7 separate regions of the Homo sapiens genome follow, and all the other regions are linked to region 3. Evidence: promoter capture Hi-C in 16 types of primary human blood cells and fetal thymus (Javierre and others, 2016). All regions are on one chromosome and are shown on one strand. Each heading gives the region's core, a stretch centred on a gene start or on the middle of the fragment in contact. The rest is flanking DNA. Distances are from core to core; before and after follow the strand shown. Region 1 overlaps SPMIP3 (sperm microtubule inner protein 3). Region 2 overlaps ADSS2 (adenylosuccinate synthase 2). Region 3 holds the start of CEP170 (centrosomal protein 170). Region 4 overlaps LOC105373262 (a long non-coding RNA gene). Region 5 overlaps LOC105373262 (a long non-coding RNA gene). Region 6 overlaps KMO (kynurenine 3-monooxygenase). Region 7 has its middle 15 kb from the start of SPMIP3.

What was found. Contacts are between HindIII fragments. The CHiCAGO score rates a contact against its expected background, and 5 or more counts as called.
Region 1: a fragment that was not itself captured here is called in contact with the fragment with the promoter of CEP170 in region 3 in 1 of 17 cell types (M0 macrophages); the score reaches 8.0 in M0 macrophages.
Region 2: a contact is called between a fragment that was not itself captured here and the fragment with the promoter of CEP170 in region 3, in 1 of 17 cell types (neutrophils). The highest score is 11.1, in neutrophils.
Region 4: a fragment that was not itself captured here is called in contact with the fragment with the promoter of CEP170 in region 3 in 10 of 17 cell types (fetal thymus, M0 macrophages, non-activated CD4 T cells and 7 more); the score reaches 13.0 in fetal thymus.
Region 5: a fragment that was not itself captured here is called in contact with the fragment with the promoter of CEP170 in region 3 in 2 of 17 cell types (neutrophils and monocytes); the score reaches 6.7 in neutrophils.
Region 6: a contact is called between a fragment that was not itself captured here and the fragment with the promoter of CEP170 in region 3, in 1 of 17 cell types (M0 macrophages). The highest score is 5.4, in M0 macrophages.
Region 7: a fragment that was not itself captured here is called in contact with the fragment with the promoter of CEP170 in region 3 in 2 of 17 cell types (neutrophils and M1 macrophages); the score reaches 5.1 in neutrophils.

The regions. Positions count from the first base shown.
Region 1 is chr1:244,361,549-244,364,947 of GRCh38, forward strand. It overlaps SPMIP3 (sperm microtubule inner protein 3), which reads left to right. Exons shown (of 5, transcript NM_001012970.3): 2 at 3,140-3,208. The coding sequence starts at 3,153. Among named protein-coding and RNA genes, the nearest start is that of SPMIP3, 11 kb to the left of the region's middle. RefSeq lists an enhancer at 146-971. The HindIII fragment of the contact is 2,049 bases long and covers 373-2,421 here.
Region 2 is chr1:244,424,207-244,428,064 of GRCh38, forward strand. ADSS2 (adenylosuccinate synthase 2) reads right to left here. Exons shown (of 13, transcript NM_001126.5): 5 at 115-181. Among named protein-coding and RNA genes, the nearest start is that of ADSS2, 26 kb to the right of the region's middle. The HindIII fragment of the contact is 4,493 bases long and covers 1-3,858 here.
Region 3 is chr1:243,252,692-243,256,530 of GRCh38, forward strand. CEP170 (centrosomal protein 170) reads right to left here and starts at 2,590. Exons shown (of 20, transcript NM_014812.3): 1 at 2,349-2,590. SDCCAG8 (SHH signaling and ciliogenesis regulator SDCCAG8) reads left to right here and starts at 3,350. Exons shown (of 18, transcript NM_006642.5): 1 at 3,350-3,549. The coding sequence starts at 3,483. The HindIII fragment of the contact is 10,208 bases long and covers 1,110-3,839 here.
Region 4 is chr1:244,296,459-244,300,249 of GRCh38, forward strand. All of the region lies in intron 1 of LOC105373262 (a long non-coding RNA gene), which reads right to left. Among named protein-coding and RNA genes, the nearest start is that of SPMIP3, 54 kb to the right of the region's middle. RefSeq lists an enhancer at 3,264-3,333. The HindIII fragment of the contact is 1,560 bases long and covers 894-2,453 here.
Region 5 is chr1:244,318,379-244,321,911 of GRCh38, forward strand. All of the region lies in intron 1 of LOC105373262 (a long non-coding RNA gene), which reads right to left. Among named protein-coding and RNA genes, the nearest start is that of SPMIP3, 32 kb to the right of the region's middle. RefSeq lists an enhancer at 1,154-1,563. The HindIII fragment of the contact is 7,427 bases long and covers 1-3,533 here.
Region 6 is chr1:241,558,898-241,562,601 of GRCh38, forward strand. KMO (kynurenine 3-monooxygenase) reads left to right here. Exons shown (of 15, transcript NM_003679.5): 6 at 1,768-1,855; 7 at 3,270-3,435. Among named protein-coding and RNA genes, the nearest start is that of KMO, 28 kb to the left of the region's middle. The HindIII fragment of the contact is 1,628 bases long and covers 1,250-2,877 here.
Region 7 is chr1:244,335,672-244,339,501 of GRCh38, forward strand. No RefSeq gene overlaps it. Among named protein-coding and RNA genes, the nearest start is that of SPMIP3, 15 kb to the right of the region's middle. The HindIII fragment of the contact is 5,430 bases long and covers 1-3,830 here.

The sequences.
Region 1 (3,399 bases), core at 147-2,646, 1.1 Mb after region 3:
CTTAAAAAGTGGAATTAGAATGTTCCTAACACAAAGAAATGATAAATTCTTGAGGTGATGGACACCCGCATTACCCTGATTGGATCATTACTCATTGTATGCTTATATAAAAATGGCACATGTACCCCATAAATACATACATCTCTTATATATCTATAATAATTAAAAATAAAAATTTTTGTTAAAAAAGCATGGCAACCCATGACCGATTTATTCCCTTACAAGACTGATTCAGAATTTCTAGGCACTGAGCACTCACTCTGTCTTCAAAGGGATAGTGGGGGCTGTCTTTGTTAGGAGCTCAAAAGCCCTGAATACCTGGCATTCTTCTGTCCAGCCTGTCACTTCCACTGAAGTAAACTCCAGTCACGAAGCTTTCGGAGTTCGGGTTAGCAGATTAACCAAGAGCTCAGCTGTGTTTACTCAGATTTTCTCTCTCATTGTTTCTTCCTTCTTTCTCTTTCTCTCTCTCTCTCTTTTTTAAATAATCACAGCAGTAAAAGTACATTATATAATGATTAGGCTCTGTTGGATAGCCAACTATTCCATTATAGTGTAATGCTGTTTAAAATCTTCAAGTTGCTTTGAAAAACACACTCAGGTGAAATAAAGCAGCTGGCCAGCCGGCAGGCAATGAGTTAACCGTTGTCTATGAAAGGGAAGAGGAGGAGACATCACACACTCTTTTTTTCCAGTCCTTTCTGTCTCCTGGTTACTGAATAGTCCTAGTTTTGTTTTGGCTGATGGTCTGGGTGCCTTGTGATTGTTTTGATAGAGCTAAGAGTTAAAATAAATATTTCTGCAGCCAGAGGGTTCCAGCCCTGGTTCCTTGGTAACCTCATACAAGTTACTTAACTTCTTAGTACCTCAATTTTCTTGGGAGTAAATAGCAGTAAAACTCTGTAGGGTTGCTGGGAGGCTAATAGGAGTTAATACATGTTACCTGGTACATAATCCATGATTGTCAATAGGAACTCACATTTCTCCTTTCTCAAAGATGTTTTCAAGGACACAGAACACTCTCGCACACATCTTTGCCTCATTCAACCCTCCAGAGAGCTATTGTAATCAATGTGGAGAGTGGGAAAATGACCTGCCGCAGGTCACATGGGTCTCAGTCCGATGTTCTCCTGCTACACCACTAGCCATGTTTGTGCAAACCATAGGCCCAGCTGTCTATGCATACATAATAGATATGCAGAGTGCAAAATTCCTAAGGTAAATGGTAAAAAGTATGCCTTTGTCCCCCAGCCACTCAGTTTTCCTTCTCATTGTTTACTCTTTTCCCTGTGAACTTTTTTTTTTTTTTTTTTTTGAGACAGGGTCTCACTGTCACCCAGGCTGGAGTGCAGTGGTGTGATCTTGGCTCACTGCAACCTCCGCTTCCTGGGCTCAAGCGATCCTCCCGCCTCAGCCTCCTGAGTAGCTGGGACCACAGGCATGCACCTCCACACCAGGCTTTTTTTTTTGTTGTTGTATTTTTCATAGAGTTGGGGTCTCACCACTTTATGTGATTATTTAAATGTAGTAGTTTGCTTGTGGCAAGCCATATTCTCCAGTAAATAATCAGATGTGGGCCAGGTACGGTGGCTCATGCCTGTAATCCCAGCACTTTGAGAGGCCGAGGTGGGTGGATCACCTGAGGTCAGGAGTACAAGACCAGCCTGGCCAACATGGTGTGAAACCCCATCTCTACTAAAAACACAAAAATTAGCTGGGCATGGTGGCAGGTGCCTATAATCCCAGCTACTCAGGAGGCTGAGGCAGGAGAACTGTTTGAACCCGGGAGGTGGAGGTGGCAGTGAGCCACGATTGTGCCACTGCACTCCAACCTAGGCGACAGAGTGAGGCCCTGTGAAAAACAAACAAACAATCAGATGTGATATGAAATTTTAGACTAGAAACAACCTATATGTTTAGTCTAGGGTCAGTGGGGAACAGAAAGGGGGCTAACATAGAGAATGAATGGCTTACAAAAAATCCTCAGAAGGGCTGGAAGAACAGGCTCTGGGTGGGGCCCCCAGGAGGCATCTAGAACATCTCCACAAAACTGACCCATCACTGGTAAAGCTATGTCAGTCCAGATCAGGAAGCTGCTTCCAGGAGTATTGAGTTCAAGAACCTACTCCCAACGCCACTGTCTCTGCCACCTAGGAAGCTGGAATTTGAACCCTGGGACACAGACTTCAGCCACTGCCTTCGCAACAATTGCTTCTTGAATGCCCCAAAGCTGGAGATGAGACGCTGGAAAAGTGCCATATGCTCCACAACCTTGCTTGCCAGTAGAGAAGATCAAGGCAGCAGCCTCTGCCTAATGTCCACCTTCCAAATCTCAAGCAAGTACAGCCGATGCAAGGGCGCTCACTCCTAGCCGGGATTCTTGTTGTGAGGCACTCTGGGAAATGTCGTGCTTAGCTTGCAAGCTTGTGAGGTAGGAAGGCCCACTAAGAAATGAGACAGGATCTTGGGTCACAACTGATCAGAACAAAACCAAAAAAACAATGAAGTGAGACAGGAGACTATGCCCAGCTAACATTAGCACAGTACCTTTGCTTTTGCTTTTTCTTTTTTTTTTTGACGGAGTCTCACTCTATGGCCCTGGCTGGAGCGCAGTGGCACGATCCTGGCTCACTGCAAGCTCCGCCTCCCGGGTTCACACCATTCTCCTGGCTCAGCCTCCCAAACAGCTGGTACTACAGGCGCCCGCCACCAGGCCCGGCTACTTTTTTTGTATTTTTAGTAAAGACGGGGTTTCACCGTGTTAGCCAGGATGGTCTCGATCTCCTGACCTCGTGATCCTCCCACCTCAGCCTCCCAAAGTGCTGGGATTACAGGCGTGAGCCACCACACCCGGCCTGCTTTTTATTTTCTTATTGATTTATACTTATTTAATTTTTTTTTACTTTTGGTTTTTAAAGAAAAGCACATCTGTGTGTATTTGCCTTATGCTTGCCATTTCTTTTTGCTCCTTTCTAATCTTGTATTTCCTTCCCTAAATAGCCTATATGCATAGTCCTTCTACCATGTCAAATATTTTTACTGATTTCTTTCAAGATGGACTTTGTGGTACTAGATATCTCACCCATGGAATTATGTATAAACTGGCAATATAATCCTTTATGCCATAATTTTTTTTCAGATTCCCATCCATCATGACTGCCATCCGACTACGAGAATTTATTGAGCGTCGCCCAGTGATCCCGCCAAGGTATAGTTCTTCCAGATGCACAGCCTCCGGGACTGAAGCCAGGCAGCCAGGTGCCTGGGGAGTTAGAATTGCACATCCTGCTGCTCAGTGGTCCAGAGACTACTGCCAGGGAGTTCTAGGGAAGCTCTTTGGATATTTCCTGATGAGCAGGTCTGTGCAAACCTACCGGCAAAAGTCAGAGGAAGCTGAGA
Region 2 (3,858 bases), core at 871-3,370, 1.2 Mb after region 3:
TCTCTAAAACAGGATATTCTAATACTTATTTTTCTTAAACTTCTGGTCTAGAACTAAAATATAAAGGTCTGCATATGCTTAAACTGTACCAAAAAAACAAAAACCCACACATACTTTTTTCCTGCTTGTTCTTGTCTCTGTTGTTCCTGGATACCATCAGCTGCTTGATGAAAATCAAATACTGAGGGGAAATAAAACCACAGTTGTTGAAACAAAGATAATACACAAAAGCAAAATCCACCGCATTTCAAATTACTGAAGTTATAAATCCCTTCAGCCTCATTTCAGTATAATAAATTAAACACATTTTTAGAAGTGATGATAGAAGTTTATAACACCAACTAGTACATTAATATGAAAATGTCTGATCTTTCGTTCTTATTTATTGCAGTCTATACTATTTTAAAAAATAAGTCATTAAGAGGGTAATTTTGAAACATCTTGCCCTAAAATTTAACAAAGGTCAATTTACAAAAATACTCTTTTTTCTTCAAGTTCTGGACTCCAAGAATCTAGGGCTCATGTTGACACCTCCCTTTTCCTCACTAGTCTCGAGCTTCCATCACCTCTCACCAAAACTGCAGTCTCCTAATGTGTGTACCTCTTTCCATTCTTAGACATCTCTAATCCAAATGCTGTCATGCAGCCAAAGCCATCTTTCCAAGACACAAATATGGCATTCACACCTCCCCTGCCCTTAAAACTCCATGGCTTTCCACTGCTCTAAAAAAAGAGACAAAATTCAGTCTACACTTTCATCTTATACCATGCTCTGCCACCCTCACTGCCCTCTGGTCACACTGGCATTCTTTGCAGCCCTCAGCTACAAGGCATGTACTTCTGCATGAAATATTGCCTCTTTCTACACCTACACATAACTTGTACTCCCTCTCTCCCCTGCCAATGCTCTGAGAGTATTAGGATCATGTCAGTTCAGCCTACTAGTTGATTTCCGGTGCAAACATGTCCTCAAATATTTACTGACTCAATAAATAGATGGTTTATAGAAGAGGCAAAACTAGAATTTTGGTCTCTGAACTTCTAACCAAGGCTTCTTGTTTTCTGTTTTGTTTTTAAACAGCTTTATGGGAATATAATTTATACACCACAAAATTCATCCATTTAAGATGTACAATTTACTGATTTTTAGCATATTTAACCATAGCTTCTTTTTGCTAATGATGTCACTGTTTCCAAATAATTAAGTTGAAATGTGTAGATGTTTAACAGAAAGACTGATATAAGGTTCTTGGGATTAGTGGTAGCATCTGTAAAAGAACTATTTAGAACTATTAGAAGACTGATACTGAAGTTATAGATGGTGAAGCTAGAAAAGTCTGATAACCCAATCTAAACCCATCCTCTGATTAACCCTGCCCCTAAAACCATGTATGTACTCTTCTCTAATTCCCTCCTTTTGAGACACTACTAAAACTATCAAGGCAGTCCTCCCCCTGTGTTTGGCAAGGTTAACAATCATATCTTTTTATGATCAAAGGTTTCCCTGGTGTGTTAGTAGAAAAGTTTTGATGCTGTACATACTAATTAGTTATATTTCAGAAGCTAAATATGTGTGATTTAAAAATATCTAGTAAGCAGTATCTGTCTTAGTGCCACACAGTTAGATAAAAGTAACATCTTTAAAGCCATATCAGTATACTGCACACCAAAAGATATCTATCTACAAGAATGCTCAGGGTAATAGTATTTGTAATATCCCAATATTGGAAACAACTCAAATTTTCATCAATGGTAGAATGAATGGATTTTTAAAAGTGTGAAATGGTCATATAAGGGGATACTATATAGCAATGAAAAAGAATAAATACTCTTTATGTAAACAATAATTCTGAGCTATAAGGGTTAGTTTATCATCATGTTCCCATTTTATTGCCCAAGCAATAGTCTTTCTCAGTTACTTGAGAGGCCAGAATAGTTCTGAAGGGCTGTTTTAAACCCTGATTTTGCAAATCAGTCATGACAAGACTGAGATCTTAGAGTACGCCATTCTCATTTCTTTTGAATAAAAAGACATTTGAATGTAAATGTTTTGTTTTCTATGCTCAAAGAAAGTAAAAAAGCAACTGACAACACACAAATAAATGGTTGATGGAAAGCAGGTGAACCATATTTTTCAGAAATTAATTTAGTACCTTGTCATAGAACTAATGCTTTCCTTGGTTTTTCTAGGCCCCAGGAAGCAATTACTGTAATCAGAATAATTACTTTCATAAGACTTCACCATGGCATGGAGCATTAATGCCTCCACTATTACTGTTTTGAAAGAACAGCCTTGGAATATCTGTTTCACTTTCTACAGCCTAGATACTGCAAACAAAAAAAACCATCATAACTGTGCACCTTTAGCTAAGTTTATTAACAGCATTTTTAAATTTTTAATTTACTATTATAGTTAAGTTTTATTAATATGATTAATGTTATACTATGCTTGGTGTGAGACTTGGTACATGTAATAGCCACTTTGCTTGCTTTCTCACATCTCCCTGAGGTCTTTACTCAACTGTCACTTTTCAGTGAAACCTCCCTGGCCACATTATATACAATTGTAGGCCCCTACCTCCTCCTCCAAACTGCCTGCCATTGCCTAGCTCCTTTCTCTGAGTTACTATTTCTCCTCAGAACTGAGCACTATATGCCATGCTACATCGATTACATATTTCTATTGATATGATTTGTTTTCACTAATACATGATATGCTCCATTAAGGGATGCTTTTGGTTTTTTCTACTGCTGAATCCTTAGTGCTCAGCACCATACCTGACACAGTAGGCATTTAATACATAGATATTAAATAAAAGAACAGCCACCTAACTAATCTGGATTTCATATTTAAATTTTAAGTGTCTCAACCACTTCTCAGGCCATTTTCCCTGAAAAAGCATCTCTTATAGTACAAACTGAATTATGAGATTCAGTGAACAGGGCAAAAGGTTAATGCAATAGGTCCTTGCATTAGTATACTAATGTAAAGAACTGGCCAGCAACTTAATAATTTTTAAGTTTCCTTAAAAAAATCAACTGTTTAAACCTTCTAAGTGAAATATTTGAAGGTAACTCAAGTAACGTAAAAGATGCATATTACAGCCCCTAGAGCAACTACCAAAATTCATAAATTCATAAAACAAGAGGTATAGCTAGTAAGTTAACAGTGGAGATAATATTAAAAATGTTCAATCGAAAAGAAAGCAGGAAAAGAACAAATAAAAAGAAAACGAAGGGCAGACATAAATCCAACCATAGTGATAATTAACTATAGTAAAAGTAACTAGTCTAAACATTCCAATTAAAGGATGAAATTGTCACAATGAATAAAATGCAAGACCCACCTACATTTTGTCTATAAGAAATACATTATAAATCTAAAGACACAGATACACTAAGGATTATTAGAGGATGGAAAGCGATACACCATGCAAACAGTAATCTTAAGGCAACTCTAGTGGCTATATTAATATCAAAGTAGATATCAGAATAAGGAATATTACCATAAAAAGGATATTGTGGTATTAACAATCATAGCTTATTAGATACTTTTAAATCACATAATACAAATTTAGCTTCTGAAGTGTAACTAATTAGTATATACAGCATCAAAACTTTCCTACTAACAGTACCAGGGAAACCTGTTGATCATAAAAAGCTATGGTTGTTAATACCAAAGAGGATATTTCATAATGAGGAAAGGTTCAATGCATCAAAATCAGAATTGTAAACATACATGTACCTAACAGAGCTTCAATGTGCATGAAGCAAAAACTGACTGACTTGAAAAGAGAAACAGACAAATCCACAATTACTGTTGGAGGTTCAGCACTCCTCCGAGTAACTGATAGAATA
Region 3 (3,839 bases), core at 1,340-3,839:
TTTACCAGTAAAATACATTTAAAGCATGATTGAATATAATCCCACATACTGAAATTTAGTTACAGATTTTTAAAGTTGAAATTTAAGATAAATAATAAATCCTTTAAAGAAGTCTATTAAAATGCAACGTAAAATTAAACGATTAAAATTATAAGGGAAGAAAAAAGCACTTTATGGCAAAATCAACCCAATAAAAAACATAAAGTTAATATATCTTAAAATGTAAATTCTAGTTTAAGTTAAAAGTAATCACTAATAACTCATTAATGATTACAACTCATTAACTGTGGCAAAATAAACATCATAGGTTCTTGTTATGCGGAAATTTTATTTTTAACACAGCCTATAGAGTTGATCATCATACTATTATAAAATACTATTGATTTTCAAGAAATAATATTAAAACCTACCGTTAAGTAGCTACCATTAGGTAGTAGGGAAAACACTGCAACACTTCGTTTTTATGAAAAGCACATGTTAGGACATCTTTCCTCATGTAGTAAGTTACTTTATGAAAGTAAAGGTCCATTTTAGGAGGATTACTACTTTTACATCACAAAGGCAAGAACTAGATTAATCACGGTGAGAATCAAGTTCAGTGATAGTCACAGCCTACTCAGGGAGCACATAGAGAAGCTTTCCATACATTTTCACAAGGTAAAAGGGCTAGGGGGACACAGGAAAGATCACTCTGCAGAATGGACCTTGAGTTTCGTTTGGCTCTGCCTTCGATTAACTGTCTGGCTTGGGCAGACAAGTCAGTTAACTTTCTGAGTTTTAGTGTCTTCCTCTGTCAAGTGCACTTGGGCTCTTCCGTGTTATCTACAAAGTTAGGAAGAGCTAAAGGCAGCCCTAGTTTTACTTTTTAAAAAATAATAACAGAAAAATACATAAGTTGCTATTCATCAGTGTACTGTTTCCAGAGCTGAATTCCTAAGTCTCTGAAGCATACCCAGTTAGGGTTATACCAGTGAAGATCCAGATACTATAGTCATAATGTCACTCTCTCCTCTCCCATTATTCCTCCACCTGCTCCTCCCCATCCTGCTTTATTCTCTCTTCTGGTGTGTTTTAAGAAGCAACGCCAGCAAACGGCTGCATACATTGTAAGCTTAAGGATTAAATCATTTTAAAATATGCATTTTCAATCAAATGTATCATCTGCTTCGCCAAATTCCTCCCAAATGGCTGAATTTTCATTAAGAGAATAAAAATGAGTTAACAACTTCGGTAACAGAAATGTACTGGGCCAGTTGTTTTGTTTGTTTTACTTGCTTAAAAAATAAACGGAAAGATGTATCCATTCCCTCAGGAACATAAATGCATTACCTGCCCAATGAAAAAACAATTCTGCTTGTTCATTTCCCTGACACAACAGCTTCGTTGTCAGGCCCTCTCTAGCCCAGGCTCCAACGTCACCTAGTAATTTTATATTGATCACCTTGGCAGTGCTTGGACTCCAGCAGGCATAGTCCCTGTCTTCCTTACATTCCTCAAAATAAATAAATAAATAAATAAATAAATAAATAAAACTCTACGAAACACCACCGAACAGAGATTCTGTGACTTAGTATACAAATCCCACGTCTTCCCGCCCTGTGTTAGGCAGCTGCAAATGTTATTTTTTCATCGCTTGCATAAAATGGAAGCGAAACGTACCAAAACCCTACATCTGAATCCTAGGACAATGAAGCCGACAGGAAGCCACTCTCTCCTCCCCCGGGTTTACTACAGAGCCAGAGCCTCCACGGGGTGCAGTCGCCAGGCAGGGTGCATGACACCGCGTCTTCCACGCCCTCCCAACGCGTCCAAAAGGTTGCTCGCCTGACCTCGCCAACCGCCTCACACCCCAAAACCAATCACACAAAAGGGATTGGCCCGGGGAGCTGCTCCAATGGGGGAAAAATCCCTTCCCCAGCGGCAGCGCAGCCATTCCCTCCAATGCTCCGCCCGCACCCCTCGCAAACTGCTACGGCGGAGGGGGGAGGGCTGCACAAAGCCAGTCGAAAGCTGAAAATGATTCAATGCACTTAGGGGATGCGGAGGCGGCAGCAAGGGGCTCGGGAAAGCCGGGGGGCCGCAGGACTGGAGCTCCGGGGGGCGGCGGGTGGGGGATGGGAAGGGTGGTCCCGTCAAGCCCCGGGTCCCAGGCGGGCAGAGGGTGGGGGTGGCGGCGCCGCGCGGAGCACCCGGGAAGCGCCCCCTTCGCGGTCCAGCCCCGCACCCCCGCCCCGCGGCGGGCGGCGCCCGAGTCCTCGCCGCAAACCCGAGGAGCAGGATGTGGAAAGCAGCCGCGGCGGTGGCTGCGGCTGCGGCGCCTACACCGAGCAGCCGATCGCATCACTTACCCCTTACCGTGGAGAGAGGGACCGGACGGGGGAGGCGGGGCGCGTCGCGTCCCGTGAGTCTCTCGCACGCCGTCCTCCCCCCACCTCGTCGTCGTCGTCGTCGCCGCTGTTGTCGTCGCTGCCGCTGCGGTCGAGCTCCGGGGCCCTCAGCTCCGCTGGGCAATAACGTTATTCCACACACGCCCCACACATAGCGGTAACGGCAAAGACCGACTGCCTAGTGCGCAGGCGCCTCGGGAAAGGGCGAGGAGCCGGACCCTATCCCCTCCTGCCCAGTTCCAACGATCCCTTACTGCGCAGGCGCCACACACAGACAATGAAAAGGGGTTGTGCGAGGGTCTCACCCACACGCTTTTCCAGCTTGCCCACTGCGCAGGCGTGCCCCGAAAGACCAGCTTGAACAATGAAGAGGACCTCGGCGTTAGGTGGGACCGCAACCAACAAGGACTACAGTTCCCAGCGGGCAGAGCGCCAACTCCAAGTGAAGGTCCGGTTGCTGGGCATGCTAGGAGTTGTAGTGTCGGCCGCCTTTACAATCTAGGCTGTTTGGAAGATTTAGAGCTTCTATTTCTTGAAGATTTATTCGACCGTTTTAAAAAATCTCGCAACTGAAGCAGGGTTCAGAGTTTACTATCTGCGTCCTTGAGTAGCCTGGGGATCAACTGCTGCATATTAGCAAATTTCGAAGCGTCAAGGCCTTCAGTGAGCCCTTTCTGTCATTTGGGTGGTCCAGGCAGCTGAAGAGTGGGATGGAGGCGGGACTAAACCAGGCTGGGCTGGAGGAAAAGGGCGGGGCCTGCAAGCCTGTCTCTTGGCAGCAGGCTCTGGCAGCCAAACCGTCCAAGCTAGCGCCTGGAGCGCAGTGGTTTCTGGGAATTGTAGTGTAACTGGAAGGCCCTGAGGATTGTCGAGCTTGCAGGTTCTGAACGTGAGGACTACAACTCCCGACGTGCAAAGCGAGGGCCAGTGGGTGGGAAGAGCCCCCAAGAGCTCTGTGCGGGATTCTAGGCTCCCCTGTGACAGCCGCGGCAGGAAGCAGGCGGGCGCTCCCCGGCCACAGGCCTGTTGTTCTCGGAAGGGAGAAAGCTGGACATTTCCCCACGTAACTCCCAGCTCTGGGCCTAGAGTGCGTGCATGGCGAAGTCCCCGGAGAACTCTACCCTGGAGGAGATTCTGGGGCAGTATCAACGGAGTCTCCGGGGTGAGTTGCTCCAAACCTCTGTCCCTAGCCCCGAGGTGCCCAGGGCCTAGTGGGCGGGAGCAGACCAGGTGCGTTTCCTAACACCTGGGTTCTGCCCCGTCCACGCTACAGAGGAGCAAGATGGATGTTGCTGTGGTCTTGAGGAGGATGAAATAGTTTGATTTAGTTTTTACAGTTAAGCAACGATGTTTCCTCAGATTCCCGTAGTTACCTCAATCAACTCCTTGATCTTAACTTGGCATCTTTCTCAACCGGCGACAGCAGAAACTCTTGGATAGCTCTATGCCATT
Region 4 (3,791 bases), core at 424-2,923, 1.0 Mb after region 3:
CAGTCACCTGTTCTGTGTCATTTAATCTCACAGCCGTGGAAGAGACAGCATTATTCCCCTTCCTTAGGTAAAGGAGCCAAGATCGTGGAGGACATGTGATTTGTTCAGTCACACAGCAGATAAGACACAGGGCTAGCAGGGAATCGCCAGATCAGCAACATGCCCATCCTGTGTCTTCACGTCTTACCACACGGCCTCCCAATGAAACAAGGAAGCTCTGGAGTCCACAAACAGATCTTGAGACAAAAAAAAAGAAAAGAAAAGAAATAAAAAGCAAACAGGAAACTCTGAGGACTGGGAGCAGGAAGGGGAAGATAGTATATGTAGGCCCAAAGACTGGAATCTTGGCTCAAACACTGCAATGTCACTCTCAGAAGTGGATGGAGGCCGTGCACGGTGGCTCATGCTTGTAATCTCAGCACTTTGGGAGGCCAAGGTGGGTGGATCACTTGAGGTCAGGAGTTCGAGACCAGCCTGGCTAACGTGATGAAACCCTGCCTCTACCAAAATAATAATAATAATAATGATAATAATAATACAAAAGTTAGCCGGGTGCAGTGGCATGTTTCTGTGATCCCAGCTCTTCAGGATGCTAAGGCATGAGAATCGCTTGAACCCAGGAGGTGGAGGTTGCAGTGAGCTGAGATTGCACCACTGTACTCCATCCTGGGTGACAGAGTGAGACTGCCTCAAAAAAAATTAATTAATTAATTAATTTTAAAAAAGAGAGAGAGAGAAAGAAGAAAAGAAATGGATGGAAAATTAAGTGTTCACTTGAAAAAATAAAAATAAAAAAAGTGATAGAAGATACGGCTGCAAAAGCAGCAATGAACTGGCTGAAAGACTGAAGCTCTGTCCTTAGATTGAAAAGTGAGGCGATTCCAATATTCAAAAGCTTGGTACTTTTGTGCCTGACTGAGTTGTAGCCCTCGTCCAAGAGATTGTCCAGGAATGGAGAAAAATAGCTTTATTTGAAGGCAGTGGTAGAAAGAGAATAATAACAAAGTTGTTTTTTAATCCTAAAAGAGCAAGTGTCCAGGAGAGGCCAATTTATAAGGAGGTTCTGGAGTAATGTCAGTAATAAAACCTCCCGGGAAGATGAAATACATGCCACTCTGGCTCTCCAGCTAGTAGGTGCTGATGGGCCCCCAGCAGCCACCAAAATTCTATTTCATTGACTCTTATCCCAACATCCTTGATAGAGGAGATCTAACTTTGCAAAATCCTCTCCAAGTGTTTCGGGGATCTTGGGTTTTGTCGTTTAAGCTCATAAAGAGTTCTCTCACGTTCCTTGGCCCTGGGCCCCTCTGTTGTTTTTTGCTTGTGAAGCCATTTGAGGGCTGCTGTGTGCCACCGTCACAGCTGTGTGGCAAGCCTAGAGTCATGCTGTTATAACCACCCGATGGGTGCTTCCTGCCCACTACACAAACAAAATCCATTCACAGAGACCACAGCATTGCAGATCACAAGGTCAGGAGATCGAGACCATCTTGGCCAACATGGTGAAACCAAGTCTCTACTAAAATACAAAAATTAGCCAGGTGTGGTGGTGCGCACCTGTAGTTCCAGCTGCTCGGGAGGCTGAGATAGAGTAATTGTTTGGAAGTGGAGGTTGCAGTGAGCTGAGATCGCCCCACTGCACTCCAGCCTGGTGACACAGCAACACTCCGTCTCAAAAAAATAAAAAGAGTTTAATTGACTCGAGGTCAGTCATGCCACATGGGAGATGGAGTTATCACTCAAATCGACCTCACTGAAGGCTCAGAGGTTAGGAGTTTTTGAAGGGTAGTTTGGGAGAAGGGATGGAGGTGTCTGGGCAATGGGTGCTTGCTGCTGATTGGCTGGGGGTGCAATCATAGGGGTGTGGGAAATGGTCCTCCTGTGCCTGAGTCCTTTGTGGGTGGGGCCACAGGAGGGGTCAGTGGGTCTAGGTGGAGGCATGAGTGTCAGACATCAAAAAAAAAGACTGAAAAGATATCCCAAAGGCCAATCTTAGGCTCTATAACGGTGATATTATCTGCAGGAGTAATCTGGGAGGTTGCAAATCTTATGACCTGCAGAATAATGGTTGGCAATCATTTATGTCTACACCTTAGCAGAATTCAGGCTCCTCTACCCTGCTAGCCTGGTGGTCTCTCATTACTTTTACAAAAGCAGCTGACTTTGGGGAAAGGGCTATTATCATTTAACTCTCAAAGTTAGCTTGGCCTACACCCAGAAATATTAACAATTAATGGCAACTTGAAGGCTAAAGGCAAGATGAGGGTTGGCTAGATCAGATCTCCCTCACTGCCATAGTTCTCTCACTGACCTAATTTTTGCAAAGCGGTTTCACTGTGTTTCTTGTAAAGGTAGAGGAGAAAGCCCCTCTCCTCCCTCCCTCCCTCTGTGTCACATTTTATTACTTGTGTTAGTGAGCACTAAAAAATGTAAGTCCTGGGTCTTGTGTGAAAAGCTTGCAGTTTTAGGCTGGGCGTGGTGGCTCACACCTGTAATCCCAGAACTTTGGGAGGCCGAGGCGGGTGGATCACCTGAGGTCAGGAGTTCGAGACCAGCCTGACCAACATGGTGAAACCCTGTCTCTGCTAAAAATACAAAATTAGCCGGGCATGGTGGCGGGCGCCTATAATCCCAGCTACTCGGGAGGCTGAGGCAGGAGAATTGTTTGAAGCCGGGAGGCGGAGGTTGCATTGAGGTGAGCTCGCACCACTGCACTCCAGCCTGGGCAACAAGAGCGAGACTCCAAAAAAGGAGACAGAGAGAGAGAGAGAGAGAGAAACGAAAAGCTTGCAGTTTCGACATGCCCTGCTTCTCTGCAGAGACACAAGTCCATGACACTGGTGTCGTGGTTCCTTTTCACTCTCATTGTTTTGGTTGTTTCAGTTCTTTCCCCCCATTTCTCAAACAATCTCCTCCCTCTACTGCAACCAAAAAGCCCCATGCCTCTTCTCCCACCACCCTGCAGACTCAGACAAGACTGCATCTCAGCTTGCTCTCAGGCTGAGAGCACTGATAGCTTGGCTTTATCTAGCAGACAACAGGAAGCCTCTGAAGGGCTCTGGGCAGAGAAATCGTTAGGAAGATGCATCTTGGCAGTAGTTCCTCAAATGAATTGGGCGGTAGTGAAACGTCTTGATTCTCAGAGCAGACTCAGCGTGGGACGGCACACTGGTGCCACCTGGAGGCGGCCGGCCTCAATTACAGACGCAGTTTACAGAAAGCTGACAAAACCCTTCTGAAACCAAATCTGAAACAGAAAGCCATCGAGTGACTTTTTAGCGCTACAGGAAGAGTGGTCTGTTTATTTGGGCTAAGCCAGCAAGGAACAAAACTTCAGGGAAGTGGCCCTGCTAGAGACTCTAGGACTAGCCTGGCCCTCCATGTCCTCCTTTGGGAGAGGCTGACTTACAAGGAGGTTCTTTTTTTTTTTTTTTTCTTTTTGAGACGGAGTCTTGCTCTGTGGCCCAGGCTGGAGTGCAGGGGCGCGACCTCGGCTCACTGCAAGCTCCGCCTCCCGGGTTCACGCCATTCTCCTGCCTCAGCCTCCCGAGTAGCTGGGACTACAGGCGCCCGCCACCACGCCTGGCTAATTTTTTGTATTTTTAGTAGAGACGTGTTTTCACCGTGTTAGCCAGGATGGTCTCCATCTCCTGACATCGTGATCCGCCCGCCTCAGCCTCCCAAAGTGCTGAGATTACAGGCGTGAGCCAGCGCGCCCAGCCACAAGGAGGTCCTTGAATTAGTTATTTTTGTAATAAAACCTCCCAGGATGGGCTGGGGAGCGCCCACCC
Region 5 (3,533 bases), core at 196-2,695, 1.1 Mb after region 3:
TCTGGTTCTATTCATAAAAGAGTTTTGTGGGGAGGGATAGTTCCTTTTCACAGAGGGCACTGATTAAAAAGCATTGATCAATAATCAATGATTATTCATTTATTCATTTCGGACCTGGCTAGGCCTTAACGGTATTTTTTACAGGAAGTCTTTGCCACAGAGGAATTTGGCCTATGATTTCACAGCCACTGATAGGGCGTCCAGGTTGCTTGGTTTCAGTTGGGCTAGGCCATCCCAGGTGTGAATAAAAAGAAATGGTCTCAAAGTTCAGCCTAAACCCATGGGCCGTGAGGCTGCACGGGGCCATTTTCACTCCCAAGACTGGAATACTGTGTGTATGGGAGCCATTGTCCGTCATGGTCTACAGCGATTCCAGTGCCTGCAGTTGGACTGATGTTCCCAGGGTGCTCAGTGCAGTTAACATCAGCCTGTGTGCAGGGAAGCCCAGAGAGGAGGCCTGAGTTTGTGGTTTGGGGTTTTGTTTTGTTTTGTTTCATTTTGCTTTTAAGTCAGAAGAAAAATAAATCAATTTTTTAATTAAATGTTATCACTACAAGAGTGTAGTAATCTGCTTAAGACTACCTTGTGATTTCCCTCTCTCCCAAGGTTCTTAACAGTAAAAGAACATTGGTTTTTGAAGATAGAAAAGAGAGGGAGGTCTAGGTTGTGAGTTGCATGAATCCCATTTGCACATTCTTATGCCTCTGAGGTACAGAGGCGTTTGTACTTGAGGGTGGCAAGATTTAACAAATAAAAATACAGGTGCCAATATTTAATTCAAATTAAACTTGAATTTCACATAAATAATGAACAAGTTTTGGCATAAGTATATCAAATAAAAGTTTAACAAATATTTAACAAATAAAAATTTAACAAATAAAAATACGGGTGCCAATATTTAATTCAAATTAAACTTGAATTTCACATAAATAATGAACAAGTTTTGGCATAAGTATATCCCAAATACTGCATGGCATCGTGCAGAGTGTGTTCCAGATCTTGCAGGGGCCTGTATTTTATCTGGCAACTCTATTGTCTTTTCAAGTGAAAACTGTGTGGTTATGCAAAGGACCTTGCAAGGCGAGGGGACCAGCAATTTGCCTGCCCATGACAATCTGAAAAGGGGTAGTGAGCTCCAAGAACTGTGATAGGAGGGATAACAAAGAGGAAGACAGCTCAACAAAATCAAACCATCTCGTCAAATACAAATAAATGTAAAAGGGAGTTTACAAAATTCTATCAGTCAAAACACACTGATAGAATTGAGTTGGCAGACAACTGAAACAACATGCAATTGACGGCTTACAATGAACAAGCCATGATTTACAGTCCAAGAGGAGCAGGATGAGGCACGATGGTGGTGGCCATGTTGATTTCCGGTGAGAAATGGAGGAAGTTAATGTTGGCCTGTGGTTTTAGAATTTGTAAAGGTTGAGCAAGCCTCCACTGTGATGACTTTACTCTCTGTGGGAAGACTGTTGCTCCATGAGAGAGGCCCTGACTCAGTGCAGAAGGGAGATGAGAAGAAGAATATAAAAGACATTAAGAAATGACAGCCCTGAGGAAGGCAATCATGACATCCAACCTACAAATCCTCTGAAAACTTAAACTTGCCTTCCCCGGCCAGGACGCAGGCCAATGTATATTCACACACATCAGGGGTTTCCCTGATTTCTAAGTCCCTGAAGAGGCTCGGTGGTGTTCTCAGTTCTAGGTGTGATTTGACAAATTTCTAATGAGAAAATTATACATGAAAGTGTTATTTTTGACCATAAGCAGTGGTTTATGCCTGTATTCCCAGTGCTTTGGGAGGCTGAGGTGGGAGGATTGCTTGAGGCTGGCCAGGAGTTCCAGACCAGACTGAGCAACAAAACCCCGTCTCTACAAAAAACTAAAAATAAAACGTGAGGTGGGGCACAGTGGCTCATGCCTGTAGTCCCAGCACTTTGGGAGGCTGAGGCAGGTGGACTGTTTGAGCCCAGGAGCTCAAGACCAGCCTGGGCAACATAGTGAGACCCCCACCTCTAAAAAAAATAATAATACAAAAATCAGCTTGGCATAGTGGTGCATGCCTCTAGTCCCAGCTACTTGGGAGGCTGAGGTGGGAGGATCACTCGAGCCGGGAAGGTCAAGGCTGCAGTGAGCCAAGATCACACCACTGCACTCCAGCCTGAGACACAGAGCAAGACCCTATCTCAAAAATAAAATAAAATAAAAATTAGCCAGGCATGATGGTACATGCTGAGGAGGCTGAGACTGGAGGATCACTTGTGGCCAGGAATTGGAGGCTGCAGTAAGCTGTGATCGTGCCACTGCACTCTAGCCTGGGCAACAGAGTGAGACCCTGTCTCTTTAAAAAAAAAAGCGTTATTTTAAAAAAAGCTCTTGCACCTCAGTTTTTATTATTTGCAAATCCCTACTTCACTCTGACTTTTGATCACAAACTTTCAATGCATTGAATATAGAATCTAATTCAGAAGAACAAGTTCTGTGACCTTGGCAAGTCACTGCTGTTTCCTTGGTTTCTGTCTCTAAAACACAGGGGGATGGACCAGCTGATTATAAGGTAGCGTCCATCAGCCTGGCTAACATGGTGAAAACCCATTTCTACTAAAAATACAAAAATTAGCCTGATGTGGTGGTGTGTGCCTGTAATCCCAGCTACTCGGGAGGCTGAAGCAGGAGAATCACTTAAACCTGGAAGGCGGAGGTTGCAGTTAGCTGAGATCACGCCACTGCTGCACCCCAGCCTGGGTGAGGCCTGAGGTGAGACTCTGTCTCAAAAAAATTTAAAAAATTAGAAAAAAATTTGTGTCTAACATGCTCTTCTATGACTCCATGATTATGGAAAGTGTATTTTCTGATGGCCCAGTCTACATTTAGGAGAGGATATTCAACCTTTTTATTTATTATTTATTTATTTATTTTAATTTTTTTGAGATGGAGTCTCGCTCTGTTTCTCAGGCTGGAGTGCAGCAGCGCCATCTCAGCTCACTGCAACCTCCGCCTTCTGGGTTCAAGTGACACTCCTGCCTCAGCCTCCTGAGTAGCTGGGATTACAGGTATCCACCACCACATCTGGCTAGTATTTTTAGTAGAGATGGGGTTTTGCCATGTTGGCCAGGCTGGTCTTGAACTCCTGACATCAAGTGATCTGCCCGCTTAGGCCTCCCAAAGTGCTGGGATTACAGGCATTAGCCACCGTGCCCGGCCTCAATCTTTCTATTTAAAAGCGTCATTATTCCTTATTCAGAAAATAGGGTGATAACTGTAGCACCTTCCAAGTACAACCATAAATAGGATATTACCAGAAAGTGATTACGGCATGAAGAATTCTAAAATGGTCCCCATGATCTCTGTCCCCTAGTATTATCCTCAGGTTATATAGCAAGGATGAAGGACTTTTGCAGATGTTCCATCAGAATCACTGATGAATGCAATTCTGCCCTTTGCATTTCATCCCTTTGGCATAAGGCCCAGATGCAAATAAAGCTAGTGAAGAAAGTAATAGGTAAACCTTGCAAGTCATTCAT
Region 6 (3,704 bases), core at 814-3,313, 1.7 Mb before region 3:
AGGCCAGGAGTTGGAGACCAGCCTGGTGAACATGGTGAAACCCTATCTCTACTAAAAATATAAAAATTAGCTGGGCGTGTTGGTGGGCGCCTGTAATCCCAGTTACTCAGGAGAATCTCTGGAATCCTGGAGGCGGAGGCTGCAGTGAGCTGAGATCATGCCATTGCACTCCATCCTGGGCGACAAGAGTGAAACTCTGTCTCAAAAAAAAAAAAAAGATATTTTAACCTAATATATCCAAAATATTATTTCAATATGTAATCAATATCAGAAAGTTATTCACTGTCATTCTTTTTATATATACTTGTTCTAATTTGCCAAAATCCCATACAGGCAACACATCTCAATTTAGGATAGCCACACTCCAAGTACTCAAACACTACCTGTGGCTGGACACCAGGGCAGCATAGCCCAAGACAGAGTATTCAGCATTACTCTAGTCTTTGGCAATGGAACAGTTTTTTTAGGGAGTATATCCCAGGAGTAACGTTCTACAAAAAATTATTTAGGATGCAAAATACTATATACTTATGTAAAAAATAAACATAATTTTTTAAAAGTTTTTTTCACAAACACATGTTATGTTTCTAAAATATATCCTTAGTATATCAGGTCAATTCTGATTACTTCAAAGTTATTTGCCAAACTACTTCTTCTACATAGATGAATTTCTTTGGTTTAGGGTCTCTCAGATTTTGCAAGAAAGTTAAAATCTTCAAACCCCAAATCAAACTGAAACAAAAAAGAGTAAAATAAGACAAGATTGAGATGAAGAGAGGAGATAAGTACAGGCAGGAATAGAACTCCTGCCTTATTTTCCCCATTTTTTTCAAATTCAACATTCTTTTTATTTACGTTTTTGACATATAAAAACTGTACATAATTAATGTGTACAACTTGATGAGTTTGGTCCTTAATTTTTTCACTTTGTGTGATCTCAGGCATTTTACCTTTACTTCCAGAATCTTAGTTACTCCTTTTTTAAGATGAAGGATTTTGAACTAAATCATCTCTGAAGTCTATTCCAGCTCTAACACCTGTATTCTGATTTATACCTTTAAGAACAATAAATAGGCTATATTTATAGATGAATACATGAGCATTAATAGGGACAAAATCACATTTTACTGTTGTAACAAGGGCATAATTAATAGTTCATAAATTGAAATTCACTCAATTCTCTAGAGTGCTAGCAGGCAAAACAGAAAATTACGAAAATAATTTGTTTCAGTTTATTGAGAGGTTTCAAAGCTTCTTACTCATTTTCCCCCTAACTATTCCAGTGTTTGATTTCAAAGAGATTTAAAATCAACAATCTCTATTTGTGACAACTTCAATCAGAATTCCAGAAAACTAGCTAAAAAGAGATATAGAGACATGCGTAATATGAGGAAAGGAGTTTGACTGAATATTTCCAGTCACAACAAAGCCTCGGATTAGAGGCGACTTCTGAAATATGTGATGCTTGCTTCTTTCCCAGGGTGCTAATAATTACAGCAATGCAAGAGTTTGCACAATGGAATCAGTTGGATGTTTTCTTTTTGAGATGAGGATAATTGATTTTTATTCATCTGTTTTACTACCAAATTATACTGAAATAGTTACCAAACAGTTGTCAAATTACCATTTAAGTGAACTTATTTTTACATTGTTATGAATAAAATTCTCTACCATACTGTTCCCAGAAAACAATTACTATTTCAATTTGATTAAGTGAAGTAAGAATTGAGATTTCATTTCTGTTTGCCTCTTTCTCCATTTCCTCAGCTGCTGAGAAATACCCCAATGTGAAAATGCACTTTAACCACAGGCTGTTGAAATGTAATCCAGAGGAAGGAATGATCACAGTGCTTGGGTAACTACGGGTCAGGTTTTGGACTTCAGAGGTGAAAGCTGGGAGTGGAGAATTGTATCTGCAAACTTTGTTCTTTGGCTCTTTTGAAAGAGTTAAAAGATTATTGAAAGGATCATCCAAATAGTTTCTAGATTCAAGGAATTTTAGATTGCAAATAGGCCCTGATGGCCATCTGAACACCAATGCCAATAATTCTTAATTCTCACACTTGCTCACCTTCCTACTGTACTGTATTCCACACTGGTGACTCTAATGTGCTTCAAACTCTCTCCTCTCTCAAATATACGTGACCCTCCACTGCTCTCCTCCTGTTCTCTTTCCAGGTGCTATTTCTCTGCCTTTCCTTGGATGATTCTATTTCCTCTAAGGTTCCAAGCCTCATATCCCACTCTTGCGATATGCTATGGATCCACGCTCATGGGTTCAACAACCACATCTCTAAGATGAACATTTCCAGTCCAAGCCTCTTTCTTCATTCTAAATCCTTATAGAAGCTCAAATCAATTTATGTTAACTTCTCATCAAACATCCTTGCTGGAACATCTTGCCATTATCTCAAACATATCTAAAACCTTGATCACCTACTTCTCCCAAATCACATCCCATTCCTGACTTCCCCAGAACTAATGCCTGAATAATTTGAATCATTCATGATGTGTTCTTTCCCCTGTCCTCTCCCATTAAATCTATAACACTCCCCAGTCTATCCTACTTTCTACTGGCTTCAGAGTCTGTCTTCCTCCTTCTAGCTGCAGGACAGTACTTCCGGCTCTCATTCCTGCACATGTAATATAATGTGTTGCCATCACCTCATCCCTGTTTTCTGCTCCCTTTGGCATTCGGCCTTCTCTTCAAACTGCCAAGGAAGTTTTCTTAAATTGCAACTCTTCATACATCATTCCCCTAATAGATAATTTCAGTTTCCCTTTTGCCAGAATAATGTTTTAAAATCTTTTATCTTGACATTCAAGATTCTCTTCTTTTCCCCTTCCTTTCTCTCCCTACCTTGTATTCTTTTCTTAAGCTTTTCTTCTAATACCTGTGCTCAAGACAAATGTATTGTTCTTAGAAAATCCTGTGGTTGTTCATACATTCATTCGTACACTTGGAACACTTGCCCTGTTTTCAAGATTCTCCTCCTTCATGCAGAAATCTCAAATCCTGTCACACTTCTGTGGCCTACCAAGTCTTTATTAATCAATATGGTGTTGTGCTATTCTCATAAGCAAACTTATGACTGGGACAAGTGTTTTCATCTAAATGTTACATCTATTAACTCAAAGCTCCAAGTCAAACATGTGAAAGTGAGCTTTCTAAGTTATCTATGGAGCCACTACTTCTCATACCCAGAGGTACATCATCATTTTCACCACTAGACATATTTTTCTTTTGGATGTTTTGTTCTATTTTTCAGATCTGACAAAGTTCCCAAAGATGTCACTTGTGACCTCATTGTAGGATGTGATGGAGCCTATTCAACTGTCAGATCTCACCTGATGAAGAAACCTCGCTTTGATTACAGTCAGCAGTACATTCCTCATGGGTACATGGAGTTGACTATTCCACCTAAGAACGGAGATGTAAGTCCTTGCCCTTTTTCAACCCCTTCCCACAACCCTTGCTCCATGAGCGCGAATGCGTATTCTAGTGCAGTGGTTCTCAGCAGCATGTCTTGATCCATTTTGAGGCCTATCACAAGAACTTTGTAATGAAGAATAAATGGGATGCATGGGTATCTTTTTAACAGCACGATTCTCAGTCCTTCCTTGTTTGATATGCTTTCTGGAGTGAAAAAGAAAGGAGCAGTCTGGGCACAGTGGCTCATGCCTGTAATCCCAGCAATTTGGGA
Region 7 (3,830 bases), core at 1,279-3,778, 1.1 Mb after region 3:
CACGCTGTCTACACTGCCTGCCTTTTCGCCGCCCAGCAGCTGTCTCGGTTATCAGATGTTCAACTGTTAAGGGATTACAGTGCGTGTATTAAAGCAACCCTTATTTACTCCATAATGGCTCCAAAGTGCAAAAATAGTGATGCTGGCACATTGTTATAATTGTTCTCTTTTAACTTTCGTTATTGCTTTTTTTTTTGACAGGGTCTCACTCTTGTCACCCAGGCTGGAGTGCAGTGGCACAATCTTGGCTCACTGCACCCACTGCCTCCTGGGCTCAAGCAATCCTCTCACCTCAGCCTCCTAAGTAGCTGGGACTACAGGCACAGGCTGCCATGCCTGGCTAATTTTTGTCTTTTTTGCGGAGACAGGTTTTTACCGCGTGCCCCTGGCTGGTCTCAAACGCCTGAGCTCAAGCGATCCACCCACCTTGTCCTCCCAAAGTGCTGGGATTACAGGCAAGATCCCCCCATGCCAGGCCAGTTATTGCTATTAATCTCTTACTGTGCCTCATTTATAAATTAAACTTTATCCTATGTATATATGTATAGGTAAAAACGTGACTATCACATTGGGGGCAGGATTTAAAAAGAAAAAATAAATAAAAATAAAAACATAGTATATATAGGGTTTGGTGCTATCCATGGTTGGAGGCAGCCATGGGGGTTCTTGAAACATATCCTCGTGGATAAGGGCGACTAAGCAGCAGACCAGTTAGCAGAAATAGCCACCTCCACGCAGCCACTGTAAGGAGTGACTTCTTGTAAGGAGTGTCTATGAGCAAGTAATTCCTACAGCAGTTTCCTAAATTCCACAGCTGTAACTAAAAGGTACTTTAAAAAATACTTTTAGCTTCACGAATAAGGAATGGATTAAGTTTCTGCAAATATTTAAAATCTTTGAAGTCGTTTGCAAGCCCCATTCTTCTGCTTGGCTGCTGAGGGCCACGCCTGTTCCTGAGGATTACCTCTCCCAGACCCCAACCCTCCTTCCACCACACCTCAGCCCTGGGAGGCCTGGTGACCAGCTGGGAGTGCCGGGCTCCAAGGCTGAGAGGTGTTGCTCAATCAGCTGAAGTGTCCTAGTCCATGAAAAGGGTACGATTTCTCTTTGCCGAAGAGACAATGCGGGAACCTTAGGAGAAAACAGCAGGAAAAGACATTGCTGCCCAGGTGGACACACATCTCCTCCAGGTGCGCTTTCCTTGGCTTTTGAGGCCTCGTATATTTGGACGTTGAAGGCGTCCCTCAGGTACCACCTGGAATGGTTTGTGCGAGTGGAGCTCTACTACCAAATGAAAACTTTCAATTACATTATTGTGCATAATGGACTTGGGGGCCTTTTTAAAGCAAAGGAAGTAACACTGCAGGAAAGGCAAAATGGAATTAAAGAAGCGGAGAGGTAACCATTTGTTTTTGTTTGACGCATCTAAGTAATTTTTTAAATGTTTTAATTCACAGGGTTGAAAACCGATGGCTGATAAGATAAATGTAACTCCATGTTTTGTTCAGCTTGCTCAGTGCACTAGAATTTGAGAAAGTTCCCATTAAAAATCTGGTTTCTCTTGAAATATGGGAAGACCTGGCAACACTAGGCCATAGTCCCACAACACGCACCAAGAGTTCAGAGCTGAGTGGCAGCCGCTCCCTCTGGCAGGGTTAGATGACCTCCGACCCCTGCAGGGCACCCCTGTTGTGGTCACTAACCACGTCCGCTCACTTATGCATATCTGCCAGGCTCCTGGAGCATCTACGTTTTCTGATCCCTGCCTCAAAGACTTCCTAACTTTTCCAACCTTCCTCTCTTTCCTTTCCTGGTTTCTTGCCGGCCATTTCACTCACAACAGGCAAAAGTGGTTTTCCTGCCCTGAGAATCTTTTTAAATTGTTCTTGCAAAACAGGCCAAGCGCGGTGACTCACGTCTGTAATCCTAGCATTTCGGGGGGCCGAGGTGGACGGATCTCTTGAGATCAGGAGTTTGAAACCAGCTTGGCCATCATGGTGAAACTCCATCTCTACTAAAAATACAAAAATTAGCTGGGCATGGCAGTGTGTGCCTGTAATCCCAGCTACTTGGGAGGCTGAGGCAGGAGAATTGCTTGAACCCGGGAGGCAGAGGTTGCAGTGAGCCGAGATCATGTCACCGCTCTCCAGCCTGGGTGACAGAGTGAGACTCTATCTAGAAAAAAAAAATTATTCTTGCAAAACATATTAGATGGACCCTGATAGGGGTCACTGACCTTCCCATGAGGTATGAACAAGAAAAGACCAAGCGTCAATAGAAGTAAGGTTTTTCTCTAGATCTGCCAGCGGCCTATGCTGTAACCACGGTTTACTCAGCAACTAGCACCATGCCCAGCATGCTCCATTAGTAAGCTCTGAATGGATGGAGTAATTTTACTATGGTCTTAAGCAGTTTACTCATTTAACCAAATGGTCTCCAAGGTTTGTCCAGCCCTATTTTCTGTGATTCTGTGGGCAAAGATTTCCTGGTGGCTTAATATGACTGAATGCAAGAATAATGGGCAGGGAACCAAAACTCTGCCCAGTGGTTGTTTTTTTTTTCCATAGGTTATTGGGGAACAGATGGTATTTTGTTACATGACTAAGTTCTTCAGTGGTGATTTGTGAGATTTTGGTGCACCCATCACCCGAGGGGTAAACACTGCACCCTATTTGTGGTCTTTTATCCCTCACCTCCATCCCACCCTTCCCCTCAGGTCCCCAAAGTCCATTGTATCATCCTTATGCCTTTGTGTCCTCATAGCTTAGCTCCCACATATCTGTGAGAACATACAGTGTTTGGTTTTCCATCCCTGAGTTACATCACTTAGAATAATAGTCTCCAATCTCATCCACATGGCTGCAAATGCCGTTAATTCATTCCTTTCTATGGCTGAGTAGTATTCCATCATATATATATATACACCACAGTTTCTTTGTCCACTTGCTGATCGATGGGCATTTGGGTTGGTTCCACGATTTTGCAATTGCAAATTGTGCTGCTATAAACGTGTGTGCAAGTATCTTTTTTGCTTAATGACTTCTTTTCCTCTGGGTAGATACCCAAGAGTCGGATTGCTGAATCAAATGGTAGTTTTAGTTCTTTAAGGAATCTCCACACTAAAATCTCTGCCCAATGTTAATTCCACTTGCCTGTAGCCTGTTAACATTTGTTGCTTCTGTGTTAAGTCTGGGTGCATAGGAGTTTACAAGATGTGGAGTTTGGCTTCTGCAAATGATGAACAAGAAAGTCAATAATTTTAAGACAGTGAGAGTGCAATAGGATCACCCCGCAACCCCGCCGGACCACCAGGTCCAGATCTGTGCCATTATCACTCTGTGCTCTTTCATCTCTGACCTTCCTTTCTGGGAAACTATCAGTGACTCTTGGAGACAGATCTCTGATCACAGCCTCTGGATGGCACTTCTGCTGCTGGTCGTTAGATGAGCGGTGCCTCTACAATTATGTTGGTCACAAATGTTGATGCTACAGTGCTGGCTTCCCTGGGAGATTCCATCAGGATCCAGAGGACTAACACCAGCTTCCCTCCCGGATGCTGACTTTGCTCAGAGGAGTGAAGAGAAGGGCCGGGGAGGTCAGGAGGGGAGGCCCACTTGCTGGGGTTGGCCCTGTCTGTTCTACAATGGTTACCAGGCAACTCTGAGGTTACATTCAACTCTCTTGTGAAGGTGATTGCAGGCACGCACTTTGCTTTTATGTGACTTTTTTTCTGGTTTTTGTTTTCGTTTTTGAGACAGGGTCTCACTCTGTCATCCAGGCTGGAGTGCAGTGCTGCAATCAGAGCTCACTATAGCCTCAAACGCCTGGGC